5 separate regions of the Homo sapiens genome follow, and all the other regions are linked to region 5. Evidence: promoter capture Hi-C in 16 types of primary human blood cells and fetal thymus (Javierre and others, 2016). All regions are on one chromosome and are shown on one strand. The core of a region is centred on a gene start or on the middle of the fragment in contact, and the rest is flanking DNA. Distances in the headings are between cores, read along the strand shown. Region 1 holds the start of LINC01018 (long intergenic non-protein coding RNA 1018). Region 2 overlaps TENT4A (terminal nucleotidyltransferase 4A). Region 3 holds the start of LOC124900934 (a long non-coding RNA gene). Region 4 overlaps LOC107986401 (a long non-coding RNA gene). Region 5 holds the start of ICE1 (interactor of little elongation complex ELL subunit 1).

The links. The method cuts DNA at HindIII sites, captures the fragments that hold promoters and counts their contacts. A CHiCAGO score of 5 or more calls a contact.
Region 1: a contact is called between a fragment that was not itself captured here and the fragment with the promoter of ICE1 in region 5, in 1 of 17 cell types (endothelial precursors). The highest score is 5.5, in endothelial precursors.
Region 2: a contact is called between a fragment that was not itself captured here and the fragment with the promoter of ICE1 in region 5, in 11 of 17 cell types (total B cells, naive CD4 T cells, naive CD8 T cells and 8 more). The highest score is 31.0, in total B cells.
Region 3: a contact is called between a fragment that was not itself captured here and the fragment with the promoter of ICE1 in region 5, in 5 of 17 cell types (total B cells, naive CD4 T cells, total CD8 T cells and 2 more). The highest score is 8.6, in total B cells.
Region 4: a fragment that was not itself captured here is called in contact with the fragment with the promoter of ICE1 in region 5 in 5 of 17 cell types (monocytes, non-activated CD4 T cells, activated CD4 T cells and 2 more); the score reaches 6.3 in monocytes.

Annotation. Positions count from the first base shown.
Region 1 is chr5:6,581,088-6,583,787 of GRCh38, forward strand. It overlaps LINC01018 (long intergenic non-protein coding RNA 1018), which reads left to right and starts at 1,049. Exons shown (of 5, transcript NR_024423.2): 1 at 1,049-1,179; 2 at 1,333-1,514; 3 at 2,516-2,700. RefSeq lists silencers at 2,131-2,180, 2,228-2,389. The HindIII fragment of the contact is 6,908 bases long and covers 1-2,700 here.
Region 2 is chr5:6,745,352-6,748,051 of GRCh38, forward strand. TENT4A (terminal nucleotidyltransferase 4A) reads left to right here. Exons shown (of 13, transcript NM_006999.6): 7 at 863-1,076. Among named protein-coding and RNA genes, the nearest start is that of TENT4A, 33 kb to the left of the region's middle. The HindIII fragment of the contact is 2,147 bases long and covers 356-2,502 here.
Region 3 is chr5:6,682,265-6,684,964 of GRCh38, forward strand. It overlaps LOC124900934 (a long non-coding RNA gene), which reads right to left and starts at 2,189. Exons shown (of 2, transcript XR_007058680.1): 1 at 1,877-2,189; 2 at 552-1,403. The HindIII fragment of the contact is 574 bases long and covers 1,141-1,714 here.
Region 4 is chr5:6,762,958-6,765,657 of GRCh38, forward strand. It overlaps LOC107986401 (a long non-coding RNA gene), which reads left to right. Exons shown (of 2, transcript XR_007058681.1): 2 at 1-2,104. Among named protein-coding and RNA genes, the nearest start is that of LINC02236, 32 kb to the right of the region's middle. The HindIII fragment of the contact is 7,832 bases long and covers 1-2,700 here.
Region 5 is chr5:5,421,427-5,424,126 of GRCh38, forward strand. It overlaps ICE1 (interactor of little elongation complex ELL subunit 1), which reads left to right and starts at 1,251. Exons shown (of 19, transcript NM_015325.3): 1 at 1,251-1,573. The coding sequence starts at 1,490. LOC101929200 (a long non-coding RNA gene) reads right to left here and starts at 703. Exons shown (of 6, transcript XR_001742583.3): 1 at 1-703. RefSeq lists enhancers at 1-497, 498-1,008, 874-1,123 and silencers at 1,154-1,483, 1,544-1,683. The HindIII fragment of the contact is 2,607 bases long and covers 1-1,770 here.

The DNA.
Region 1 (2,700 bases), core at 11-2,510, 1.2 Mb after region 5:
AGGCAGAAATAATTTGAGAAAGGTTTACTGGAAGCCAAATGTGAGGATTGTTCCAGGGTCAGAATAGTTCTATGAGAAAGTTTAGGAGCAGGGAGGGGAGGGCACTCCTTACATTGGAGTTGTCCTTTCCATTGGAGGGTACCAGGGTGTCCCAAAGAGGTTACAATCATTAGCTTCAGATTACAACACAAACACATGCTAAAGCATTCTATCTGCAAGACAACTGGCAAAACTTCATGATTCAGAGACAAATCAGGGCCTGGTGCACTGGTTCATGCTTGTAATCCCAGAGTTTTTCGAGGCTGAGGTGGGGGATCCCTTGAGGCCAGAAGTTTGAGGTTACAGTGAGCTATGATGGTGCCACTGCATTCCAACCTGGGCCACAGCTCAAAGCCCCATTTCCAAAAAATAAATAAGTAAAACAGAAATAAATCAGTGTCTTTTTTCACATTGATCTGTATGTTGACAGTTGGAGAAGGGTACGAGAAGATCTGAGGGATTCACGAGAAGACCCTTTACTCAGGGGACAGGATGCAAACCATGCATCATGAAACCTTCCCCAAGCAGGTAACTCGGAAGGCTGCCAAGTGGGACCTGTAGGCTCTCAGCACCTAGCCGTGGAATGACAGATCCAAGCTGGAAGGGATACGGACAATCCATAGGTCCCACCCGCCTCTTTCAGCAGTGAGAGAATTGAGACACCGTCGGGTGTCTCCTGAGGTCACCCAGCTAACTGGCCCCAAGAAGCACAGGCCCCAGGAAGCCCACCCTTTGTCTCCCCCAGATTCTGACCAACCCCCACATCATCTCCTTGCCTGGTTTCTCTGGGGAACCAGGAAAAGAGCTGAAGAGTAGCTTCTGCTTTATAATGTTCACATTCCATTTCTAGTTGAAATTCAGTTGATTTTTAAATAATGCATCGCCTTAGATTGTGGGTTTTGGCAGGAATTTCAAGATACAGATAAAATTCCAGAGAGTAAAAAAGAGAAACACGTTTACTGCCAATTCCTTTTGAGGGGAATAGAAAAACATATTTTTGAATAAGCTCATCCTGGGTTCAGCTTCCCCTGTGAGAAGGACACATATAACAATAAGAAATTAAGGGTTCGGGAAGGAGAGGGGCCACCCTGTGCTCACCCCCACACAGCCCTGCAGGAAAACCCAGTGAACGGTGCCCAGGTGCCTGGCTGACTCCTGGGCCGGGAGGGGACATGGAGGGACAGTGGCCATCAGGCTCTTTGTGGACACTGGGGATTAACTACTGCTCGTTCTCAGCTCACTGGTGTCCAGCCCATCAATAACCTCATCAATAACCTAACTTTGGTCAATTAGGTTGGAGTCCGAAGGTGACTGATTTGCGGCAAGGTTTTCTCTCTTCCTCTGTAAAGTGGAGTCCTTCATCATTCATCGCAAGTAGACAACTCGCTTCCTAATGCCTCTGCATTAAGGAGCCAGGCGCTGCAGCTCTTTGGTACGTGACCTCAAATAGATTCATGCGTCCTTCTGCTGACACGGTGAGTACCTCCTGGAGTCCAGGACTCAGAGCATGGACACACCCTAACTCCAGCTAGGGGAGGGCGAAGCCACCTGCACCTGGGAGGCTGGCGCTGCCTAAGCGGGTCAGGCAAGTCCTCGCCTTGGAGGGGAGAGTCCTTAGTGATTTTCCCTGGCTCTGCTCCCACCGACGAGACGGACTCAGGAGGGGCGAACGGTATGTGGGGCGGGGACGCTTTGTTCAGATGGCGTCATCAACCCCAGGTCCGTCTGGTCTTTTTTATTCACTGCATATTAAGGTGCGTGCGGCCTGTGGCTGGTCCCTGTCCTGCACACCTGTATGGCCTGGACTAGGCCTGAGCGCCTCAAGGGCCGAGCTGGGTCCTCCCCACCCGCCGGATTCCCCAGCGCCCAGGCTGTCTCCAAAGAATCCCCCCGAGAGCAGGTCCCCGCTTCTCGGGCGTCGGGGCTCGCCGCAGTCACGCTGCACACCCTCCCGGCCTAGGGCGGCGCCGGCCCGGGACTCGCGTGTCTCCCCGCGGCGCCGCGCAGGACCCGGGCCTCGGAGCCCGGCAGCATCCCCTGCTGGCCGCTGGGCTGAGGAGCCGCGGGAGGCGGGGAACGCGGGGCCGCGGGGGCTGGGCGGGCCGGAGTGCGCGGTAGAGGGGGCGGCGCGGCCGGGGTGCGCGGTAGAGGGGGCGGAGCGGCCGGGGTGCGCGGTAAAGATGGGGCGGCGCGGCCGGGGCTCGCCAGCACCAGCCCTGGAACCCCATGGGGGACCTCGACAACAGCGCCTTTGCGGCGTGGGCCCCTTTCTGCAGCTCCTCCACCCGCGCGCTGTCGGCTCCGGGACACTGGGGCTTTGAAGGGCGCCAGTTCCCAGCCGCACCTGCACGCCTAGGAGGGCGCAGGCCGCGTGTCCCTGTGGGAGGAAGGCCCCGGCAACCTGCAAAGACCTCACGTCACAGAAACTTGCGGCGTTTGCCCCCGATGCGCGCGTCAGGTGCTCCGTCCCTTCCAGGTGGCAGAGGAGAGGGAAGGGTCGCGCCTGGTGGGGGCCTGAGAGCCACCGGGCTGCGGTGCGCGAGTGTGGACACCGCCCCGCCTTCTGCGTCTACAGCCCTGGGTTCTGGGACCTTTGGAAACCGCTTTGGACGAAGCTGAGCATCTCTTTCCCCACGCTGACCTCCCCCATAGACTCCGGAT
Region 2 (2,700 bases), core at 179-2,678, 1.3 Mb after region 5:
TCTGAGGGCTTTCTCTCATGTGCCCTCGTCCATCCCTTTCGAGTTGGCACTGTCCGATAGAATTCTGTGATGGTGATGGCCACTTCTGCATGGTCCGGCAAGGGGCAGGGCGCCACATGTGGCTACTGAGTATTGCAGTGTGGCTGGTGAGAGCAACAAGCTGGATTTTTAATTAATTTGTTTTAATTCATTTAAATAGACATGTGGGCAATGCAGGTCTGGACAGCTGAGAATTATGACCCTCAGGAGGTGTGGTGGACAGTGGTTTACTTCCGAACAAGCCCAGTGCCTGCTTTTGAAGACGATATGGCACTGAACTGAGAGTGGTGCTCATCTGTGTGACAAGCAGGATGGAAGCTTGCTATAAATATTGTGATATAATGCTAATGACCTTTACACAGCTAAAATCAATCCTTTCACTTTTCCGGTTTTATGTGATACTGCCATACTAGTCAGTCTAACACTGACCCCTGTTGGTTGTGCTTCAGCATAACGAAATTAGGATGACGAGAATCTGAAATTACATCTACCATCCAGGTGACTAAGTTATGCAGAATATAGTCCAACTTATTTGCCCATATTTGGTTAATCAGATATCTGTGTTTGCAGGAAGTTTGCTGTATGGATTACCAATTTCAAAAATCAAACTACACTAAAATTCAGATGAGTCCGTTGTGTTCCTTTTGAACACTCCTCGTTGAAGAGGCTGCTGTTCAGGCTTCCTCGTGGTGCTGGTGAGTGAGCGAGTGCCACTCACTGGTATTGCCTTGAAGAGGCTGCTGGACAGCAGACTTCGTCGCGTGCTATTTTCTTTAGAACATGCCATGAATCCATACAAATTGTGGGTGCATTGCTTTTACAGTTGCATCCAAGAATTGATGCCCGGAGAGCTGATGAAAACCTTGGAATGCTTCTTGTAGAATTTTTTGAACTCTATGGGAGAAATTTTAATTACTTGAAAACCGGTATTAGAATCAAAGAAGGAGGTGCCTATATCGCCAAAGAGGAGATCATGAAAGCCATGACCAGCGGGTACAGACCGTCGATGCTGTGCATTGAGGACCCCCTGCTGCCAGGTAAGGGCGCCCTGATCTCCACTGCTGAGAGCTGGGCCAGCCTCGGGGACGTGCTGGTGACAGGGCCTGTGTTGGGGCTCTGAGAGCCCCGGGCAGTTCATTTGCTCTTGATGCAGGTTTCTCTTATACTAACCAGTTAATAATCACACTTTGAGAAATCCTTATTTAATGCTTCTAATTAACTTTTGTCTTTCTAACTGTTTACATTCTATAATAAAGAAGAATTAAGGAAAATCTTTTCTTTTTCTGATTATTGAAGTATAACATATCCACCCTAAACCATTTGTTTCTCTGAAGTATGTAATATAGAAAAACCATGGATGCCATAATCCCCTTTTATTTGGACATGTATTTCTCCACTTTTTCCCTATATGGATATTAATGTTTATTATTGTTATCTTGTTGAACACATCCCACAACGCAAACACGTTTGTCACTTGGCTTTTGACTTAACGCTTACCCTTGACCCTTTCCTATGTGTGTAGGTTGTGTTTTGTCGTGAGGATTGCCGCATTGAAGAGTCTAAGGCTGGGCTAGAGGTTTCCCGGTTTTATTCCCATTGGCGTATTCAGGGGTATTTATGTCCTCATTCCTTTGGTGACAGTCTTTTAAAATCTTTGCCAATCTGATAAAACCATGTGTTAACGCTTTTAAATTTATATTTCTTTAATGATTAGTGGGGTTAAACACATTGCTATTTATGAATTCCACAAATTTTGATTGAGCGTCTGTTAGGTGAGATACCATTCTTACTGTTGGTGATAAAATCGTTGGCGGACGGGTGACAGAACAGGTGGTGGAGAGCCCAGCTCCAGGCGCGTGTCCCTGGGCCTTCTCCTCTGTGTGGCTCTGTGTGCTGTCCGCCCGGTTGCTGGCTGCCCTCCTCTGCTGTGTGCAAGGCCTGTGTGTGTCGGGGAAGCCTTTCTTGTCACACATGTCATACTTTTTCCAATTTGTTTTTTGCATTTGTATTTTTTTATTCAGCTCCTATACATTTAAAAAAACACCTCAGATTTAATGGTTGTTTTTGTTTTATGGCTTCTGGGATGTGAGCTTTATTTATTTCCTAAAGATCGTCTCAAGGAAAACACATTGGCTGATGTGTTTTGTTGTTGTTTATAGATGGCATGATTTGTGCAGGCTCTTGAGTGGTTTTCTTGGTAGCACGGTATGGCAGTGTATCATCCATTTTTGTCCGTTGGATGAGTCACATTGGAGACATTGGCATTGTCTTCAAGTGTCTGCTGAAATGTACTCAAAAAACAAAGACCCACATAATCGTTGAGTTATAATATAAATCTAGAAAAGATAAAACTCCAGTACTTAGAACATATATCCTTTAAAAGAAATCCACACTTAACCTGATTGTGAAGAATGAGTTGTTTGTAGATTAAAATTAGAAACAGTGCTTTTCTTATGAAAATTAAGCTTCTCCTGACTGGCTTCCTTGGTGACTGCTGTGACAGATTCCTTTGATTTGCTGTCCCAGTTTTCCACACGTGAGAATTCACATTCCATTCTAAAGGATTTACTTCCTGTAGGTTCCATTAGCGTTGACTGAGTTGTGATGCACTTGGGGTGAGCTGCCCTTCTACCTGCCCTGTTGGGGCACTGTGAGGCCTCC
Region 3 (2,700 bases), core at 178-2,677, 1.3 Mb after region 5:
AGATGAGTGGGCTAGAGGATGGGGCCAGAGTGGCTGGAGCTAGAGGGGTGGGTTTGGGGTGGGGTTAGACAAGTGAGGCTAGAAGTGTGGGGTTAGAGCAGTGGGACTACAGAGGTGGAGCTAGAGCGGTGGGGCCAGAGGGGCGGGGCTAGAGGGGCGGGGCTAGAGAGGTGGAGATAGAAGGGCGGGACTAGAGGAATTGGGCTAGAGGGTCGGGGCTAGAGGGGTGACGCTAGGGCTCAGACTCCAGGACAGACAGAAGTGACGGGGATCGACAGGCTCTGGGAAGTCTCGTGCCTCGTCTGCCTCCCATGGCTGGCTCTGCTGCGCTGCTGGTGATTTGTGAAAGTGAAGATTTTACTTTGAAGTGCAAAAGCTGTTCCATTTGTTGGTCATAAAGACATTTTTAGGCAAGTAAGTAAATAATTAATGAAATGTTTTGTTTTAATTTTTTAAGAGAATGATTCTATGCCTTACATTTGTATAAAGCAGTGAAAAACAACACCCTATCCCCCCCTTAAGAACCAATTCAAATAAAATACAAATGTTTATGCAGTTCACATTTTTATTCATAATGAAAATGCTTTATTAAGTCACATGGGAATAAAACGTAGATTCTTACAGATTAGATGACTTATTCAATGAATACAAGAGCATCATTGTCAAAATAAGCCGTGCAATGTTCCTTGTCTAGGGCAAATGAAAAGTTACTGCAGAAAAGCAGGTTTCCAATTTTTTGCCCTGTTGTGTTGCACAGCGTGTCATACACTATCCAGTGTGTGCTGTGTTCAGAAGTCGACACCCAGCACTGTCTTGAATGTTATGAGTCTATATTTCAACAAATAAAACTTACTAGAAATTAAGACAAATAAATTTTATACTCTAGTCAAAACTTAGTAATTTATTCTGTAATGTACATAGTAATATAGCTTTTCTGTAACTGGCACAGAATAGCTTCACATTTCATACTTGATGTTGGTAATAAGTAATTATTTTATTTGAGATAAGTTGGTACACTGTGTTCTTTCCTTTCCTTCTACCTTTTGGACACAGAGCAGATGTCACTGGAGCTTTTGGCTTGGACTGTGGCTAGCTCCAGGCTGCCCACCTTGGGTTTGTCATTAACCCTGCACAGCGGTAAGCTTGCCTTGAGGCCTCAGTTCAGTGCACTCGATAAATGGTTATTTGCACCATATGCTGGGCACGTGTGGCCTAAGCACAGAAAGGCTCTGTGCGCTTGCGGAGAGCGGCCAGGCAGGCAGGCAGGTCCTGTGGCTCCTCATAGGTGGAGGTAGATGTGTGGGATGTGAGGTACCCACTCACAGCGGGTCTCACTTGCTTCTCTTGATTCTGCCTCGATTCACTCTCACAGAGGAGATTTATCCCCAGGTATTAGATCCCCTCTACAATAACAACAGCAGGATATTAATTTTCCCTGCAAAATGACACTATTCTGTAAAACAAGTAGTAATCAGATGTTTCATATGCATAGACAATGTAAAGTTAAATGTGATATATTAATACTGTTGTATATCAATAAGTTTCTATAAATAATCAAATCATAACATGTAGCTAAGTAACATTAATTACACATTAGTGATTTGATTTCATCTCAGATTCTTGAGACATAAGAAAAACAAAAATGACAGAAATTTCCCAATTGACTTCATTCAATTGATTGATACAGAAAGTCAACCAGATACCTCTATCAAAAAGCTTATACTTTATATGGGTGTGTTCATCTATTCCTAATGCAGGTGTTTTGATACCTGTATTATATTTTAAATATGTACATGTATCAGTCAGAGTTTTCCAGAGAGATAGAACCGATAGAATGGATAGATGGATAGATAAATATATTTATTTTAAGCATTACCTCACTGAGCTGTGGGGGCTGGCAAGTCTGGAATCTACAGGCCAGCAGGCTAGAAACCCAGGCGGGAGATGGTGCTGCCATCCTGAGGCAGAATTTCTTCTCTGGGAAACTTCAGTTTTTGCTCCTGTGACCTTCAACTGATTGGATGAGGCCCACCACATTATCCGGGGTAATCTCCTTTACTGACATCTACAGAATACCTTCACAGCAACACCTACATTAGTGTTTGACCAAACAAAGAGGCACTGTGTCCTAGCCAAGTTGACACCTAAAATTTACCATCACAGTAACCTTTACAAGTTAGCGTCCTACCCTTTTCAGAAGACTTGGAACTGGAAAATATCACGACATACACAAAAAATTACTAATTTCAATGGAGAGTAATTCATAGAAAGGGTTTAAGACCCTCCTGGTTTGAGGCCAGCCTGGCCAACATGGTGAAATGCCGTCTCTACTAAAAATACAATAATTAGCCGGGCGTGGTGGCTCGCGCTTGTAATACCAGCTACTCAGGAGGCTGAGGCAGGAGAATCACTTGAACCGGGGAGGCGGAGGTTGCAGTGAGCCGAGATTGTGCCACTGCACTCCAGCCTGGGCGACAGAGCAAGACTCCATCTCAAAAAGACCCTCTGGGGCAGGCAGAGACATAGACACTGTGCAGAGGCTGTTGCAGGTGGTCCTGGGGAAGCAGATGTGCTTCTTCCCGCAGAGCAGACAGTGTGGGATGCACAGCCGGTGCCTGCTCCACTGTGTTCAGAGCATGACTCCAGGGCCAGGTGAACCCCCAGGGCCAGGTGAACCCCACGGGTTCTTGGGTTTCCACC
Region 4 (2,700 bases), core at 193-2,692, 1.3 Mb after region 5:
TGGGTGCCGCCTCTTCTAGGAGCCATGGATGCCGGGGCTTACCCCCAGAGACTGTGAATTGAATGGTTAGGAGGGAGCCTGCACACACCGGAGAGCTCTGAGCACCAGGCGAGTCTCCCATGTGGCCAGGTTGGGAGCCATCGCTGTTCATGTGGCCAGGGCTGCCTTGCCAGAGGAACTCATCTTACTTTGCCACCATGAAAATGTAACTGTTTATCATGTCATGACCTCCCTTGCTACAGTCGCTCTCGTCTTTTGTGTTCTATTTAATTTTTTAAAATGCTGGTGGCCCAGTCACTAAATTTTTTTTTTTTTTTTACCACCACTCATGGGCAGGACCTGTTACGTGAGACATGCACCAAAGCACGGAGAGGGACAGCCACGATCCTGCCCGGAACGGGTCTTCAGAACTGGGCAGAGCATGGCTCCTTTTGATGGGGGCCCCAGAACTCCTTTTCAAAGGCAATGGCAGGACGGGATCCACAGTGGGTGGCCCTTTGATAAGGAGGCATCCTCCAGCCAGAGTTGACACCACGTGGACAAGGTCTCAATGCTGCTTAACACTGTTTTGGGTGCAGAACAAAGAGCGGTTGGAACATTTCTCGTCTAGTCTCCCCCTCTGTACGTGTCCTGTGTTTCTAGCTTGTTCAAAGTGGTCAAAGACCCAAGGCTGGTCTGGCACAGAAGGGGTCGTGCCTACATGTAGGGAGGCGCTGACCCTTCTGTCTCCCCTTGTATGTCCCCAGGGACAGGACAGCCCCCTGCCTGTTGTCCCCAGTGTCCTCTGTGAATGGGGACCAGCTGTCTTTCAGGTAACTCCCTCCTCCTCCACCTCTGTCCACTCGCTCCGGTAGCCACCCCTTCCACGTGCAGTACGGCTCTGCATCCCTGAGAGCCTCGATGACTCCTCTCCTCTGCCTCTTCTCTAGTGTTGGGTCCTATATCTGTCAGTTAATTACGTATTCATTATAAGAACATATTTCTCTTGGGTCAATATTTAACTTTTCAAATTTATCTTCTTTACTCAATAAATTGTGACCATGGGTGTCTGTTCCTCGTGGGCTCAACACTGCCAGGCATGTAGAAATTGCTTGATGCAGTTTCACTGGCTTGTGGACAGGCAGTTATGCTTCTCTGTGCTTCTGTGATTCCATGCTAAAGAAAGTCAGTAGCAAGCAAATAGCAGAGCTTTAGTGGGTAAGGACAGTATTTTACCTTGAAAAAGGCAGCAGGAAAGAGAGTTAAGACTCAAGTTTCCTTTATTAAGGAAAATTGAAATCTAGGTACCTACAGATGCTCTTTGACTTATATGATATGGTTAGGTCTCGATAAACCCACTGTAAGTCAAAAATGCTTTTAATACACCTAACCTACCGAATGTCTATGTTACATATGCGTAGAGCACTTATATTTGCATCCAGTTGGGCAAAATCATCTAACACAAGCTGATTTTATTAATATTAAAATTGATGTAATATATGTACATATTTTAGTACATGTGATAGTTTAATATGTTCATATAATTTGTATAGGTCAAATCAGAGTAATCAGGAGATCTATCACCTTAAATATTTCTTTATGCTAAAAACATTGGAATTATTCTATCTATTTTGAAACATACAATAGATTGTTATAAACTTTAGTGTCCCTACTGATCTAGAACTACCATGTGATCCAGAAATCTCACTATTGGGCATATATCCAAAAGAAAAAATTATTGAAGAGACATCTGCACTCCATGTTTTTTGCAGCACTATTGACAAGAGCCAAGATGTGGAATCAATCTAAGTGCCCATCAGTGGATGAATGGATAAAGAAAATGTGGTGTAAATACACAGTGGAACACTCTTCAGCCATTTGAAACACAGATAGAACTGGAGGCCATTATGTTAAGTGAAACAAGCCAAACAGAAAGGTAAATACTGCATGTTCTCGGATGTGGGAGCTGAAGTGGATCTTCTGAAGATAGAGAATGGACTGGTGTTACCAGGGGCTGGGAAGGATTGGGAGTAGGGGGATGAAGAGAGGTTGATTAATGGGTACACAATCTCACATAATGTATTGTATGCTTTACTGAAATAAAAACAGAATGGTTGTATGGGTACTCTAAGTATGGTTTCTCCTAAACACATACGGCTTCCACACCATCATAAAATTGAAAAATCATTAAGTCAAGCACTGTCTAATATAACTTAATACAATGCTAAGGTCCTTCATTTAATTGTAACATAAGTCACTCAAGTGTTGCCATCCTGGATGATTTTCTTGGATTTTTTTTTTTTTTTTTTTTTTTTAAGACAAGGTCTTCTTGCTCTGGAGTGCAGTGGTGTGATCACAGCTCATGGCAGCCTCATACTCGTAGGCTCAAGCAATCTTCTCATCTCAGCCTCCAGAGTAGCTGGGACTACTGGCATGTTCCACCATGCCCAGTTAATTATTATTATTGTTTTTTGTAGAGACGGGGTTTTGCCATGTTGTCCAGGGTAGTCTCGAACTCTTGGGCTCAAGCGATCCTCCCTCCTCAGCCTCCCAAAGTGCCGTGTGCCACCATACCCAGCCCCTCTTTGGTTTTTTAAAAGTGCCTGCTAGCTCATCAGCACAGGAGCAAGGCGACTTGGAGCCACAATGAGACAGATGATTGCCAGTGTTGTTTCATTTCAGTTCTTAAGTTCCTGCATGGGGTGCTTACTGATGAGTCTG
Region 5 (2,700 bases), core at 1-2,500:
TCTATCACCGGCAGGTCCTCAGTTAGGTACACGCCTGTCTTGCTTGGGTGTCAACGACAGGAAACTTAGCTATCGCTGGATGTCTGCTTCCGCCACTCCACAGCAGGTGGTATCCAGAGTGTGTAAGCAAGGTCAGGGGTGCGAAATTTGGAGAAGAAAACTCAGAGAAAAATGCAGACTGCTTTTTTTGGAAGGGGTGTTTTCAGTTGCAATTTCCATACTGAGGAGCTAGAAATTGGCTGGTAAGGTCTAGACATTAACTTAACTAAACGTGCATTCCTCCTCTTGAATTTGGACTTTATAAGGAATTTGGATTGTATAACCACACGATGGAAGCTGCGAGAGGCTTCTGAACAAGGTACTGACGGCGACCAGCTGTGATGACTAAAAAGACGATTCTGGTGGTGGTGGATACGGTGGCTGGAGATAAGAAAAACCTCGGTTCAAACGAGATCTGAATTTACCCACTAACTACGACCACGAGGAGTTTATTCCTTTATCTTTCCGTTTTCTCTCTCTCCCGAGAAGTGTCAAAAACAGGATTTGGAGGTGGCAGGATAATGGCCAAAATGGGTAGACAAGGTGGCGAACGATTCAACCAGGCTCTGGGCTTGGCGCATGGTGGGCGGTGGCGCCCACACCTGGGCCTGGGAACCCGCCGCTCGGGCATCACTGGCTGCCGCGGCGACCGGCGAGGACACATGACCGAGGAGCGAAAGGTCAGAAGACAAGGGGACTGTTACAGGAGCAGGGGAGCCGCCACTGGCTGCTAAGGCCGTGCAACTGGCGCCGAAGCGCACGATCTCCGCCCGCCCCGCAGCGCGTCGGGAACTGTAGTCCCTCCCTCTCCTGCTCCCTGGCCCAGGACGGGCTCCGGGACAGCGCCTATCCCTCTAGCTGTAAATCACGCACTTTCCTGTCCTGGACGCCGGGTCCTTCCACTTCTCAGGCGTCTGGAGCTTACGTCACGGGCGGGTCACCGCCCACATAGCGGAGGCCTTTAGGTGTCTATGGAAAGCCTGTCGTACAGCAAGGTGGCAATAAAGGATCGACCCTTAACAGTGGTAGGAATGCACCTTCGATCCTTCTACTCCTATTGGCTGCTCCTCTGTGGGCGTCTCCCCCGCCGCATAGCACAGCTCCTCTCCCGGTGTTGCTCAGGCAGCGCCTTAGGCAGCCCCGCGCCCAGGGGAGGGGCGGGGCGAGCCAGGGCGGGGCGGGGCGAGCCAGGGCGGGGCGGGGCCCTGACTGGACTGCGTCGCGCTCGGGGGCCGCGCCGGGTAGCGTTTCTTTTTAGTGCCTGAGGCAGCTCTGGCTCGGAGAGCCTTTTGCTAGCCCCACGGGGACCTCTGTGCACGGATGGACCCGCCCGGACCTGGCGGGAAGCGGCCTGGCAGGCGGCGGCCCCGGCGGCATCAGCAGAGACAGGACGGGGCCGACGCCGCGGGCCCCTGAGGCGTGCGTGCCCACCGGGCCCGGCGGCGGCACCATGATGCCGGGCGAGACCCATTCGGCGGCGCCCGGGACGGCGGCGGACCTGTCGCGATGTCAGGGCTGCGCCTCTCTGCAGCAGGTGCAGCACCTCCCGGGGCCCCGGGCGCGGGGGGGGACTCGGCTCGGCCGGCCGGGAGCGCAGGGATGTGGGGTCCGGCCGCGCGGGCTGTGCCTCAGTGCGCTGCTCTCCCTTCCCAACCGTAGCTCTTGCTCGCTCGTCTCTCTGCTCTCTTTTTCCTACATGAGTTTTGGGGACGGCTTTCTTTGCTTTATTTAAGCTTGAAACCCAGAGTTCATTGACTGGAATGCGCTGGTGTAACGGTGGGGGTGGAGTAAGCGAGGTTTGGAGGGCCCCCCACCTTCCCTACCCGGCCTCGGAGCTCCCTAGGGCAGACTCCGTAGGTCAGTGAGGGACAGGTGAAACGCCGAGGGCAGTTATCTCCCTGAGGATAACGCTTTGGTCTTCTGGCCCATCCTGAGTATTTGTTGTTTGGAGGCAGAATCTTACGTGACATGTGGGTTGTCTGAGTCTTAGACTCGAAGAGTCTAGGGAGGCGTTTCAGCTTATAGCAGATGTGCCATCCCGAGGCTAATTTTTTAAAAAGCAAGCCAAGTAATTGGTCAAGTAGCTTGTCAGTTGTTTGATAAAAGTAGTTTATGAAAGGCATGCAGAGACTGGAGGTTTCTAACAGCGGCGTGGGCTCTTCTTTAGAGTGACATAAGGGAGAATTGCTAGAGTATGGCTCCAGATCTTATGGGGTGGTACTTGGGCAATAGTGCCCCTCATTTCCCACGACTCTCCTAGCTGCCTGATGTCGGGGGTCTCTTTTAACTTCCTACTATCGCGGTTTCAGTGATAAAACGGAACTCACCAGCACCTCATTACCTACTCTGCCTAGTGTTCTAGGAACTACAGACATTGTGGTGAACAAAATAGGATCTCTCATAAGTAAGATGCATATGTGTGAATAAGGCCTCAGAAGATTTTAGGTGTTAGAAAATAAAGGAGGATGTTGGAATATTGGTCTTGTCTCTTAGCTAGAGTAGTCAGGTAGGGAATTTTTGAGTCAGTAACTTTCAGATATTTGAATAATGGGAAGGATCGGGCTGTCAGAAGAGATGTGGGAAGAGCTTCCTGGATAGAGGGATTAACAGGTGGAAAGGTTCCTTTGGTGAGAAGGAGCAGGGTGTCTTTGATGAGCAGAA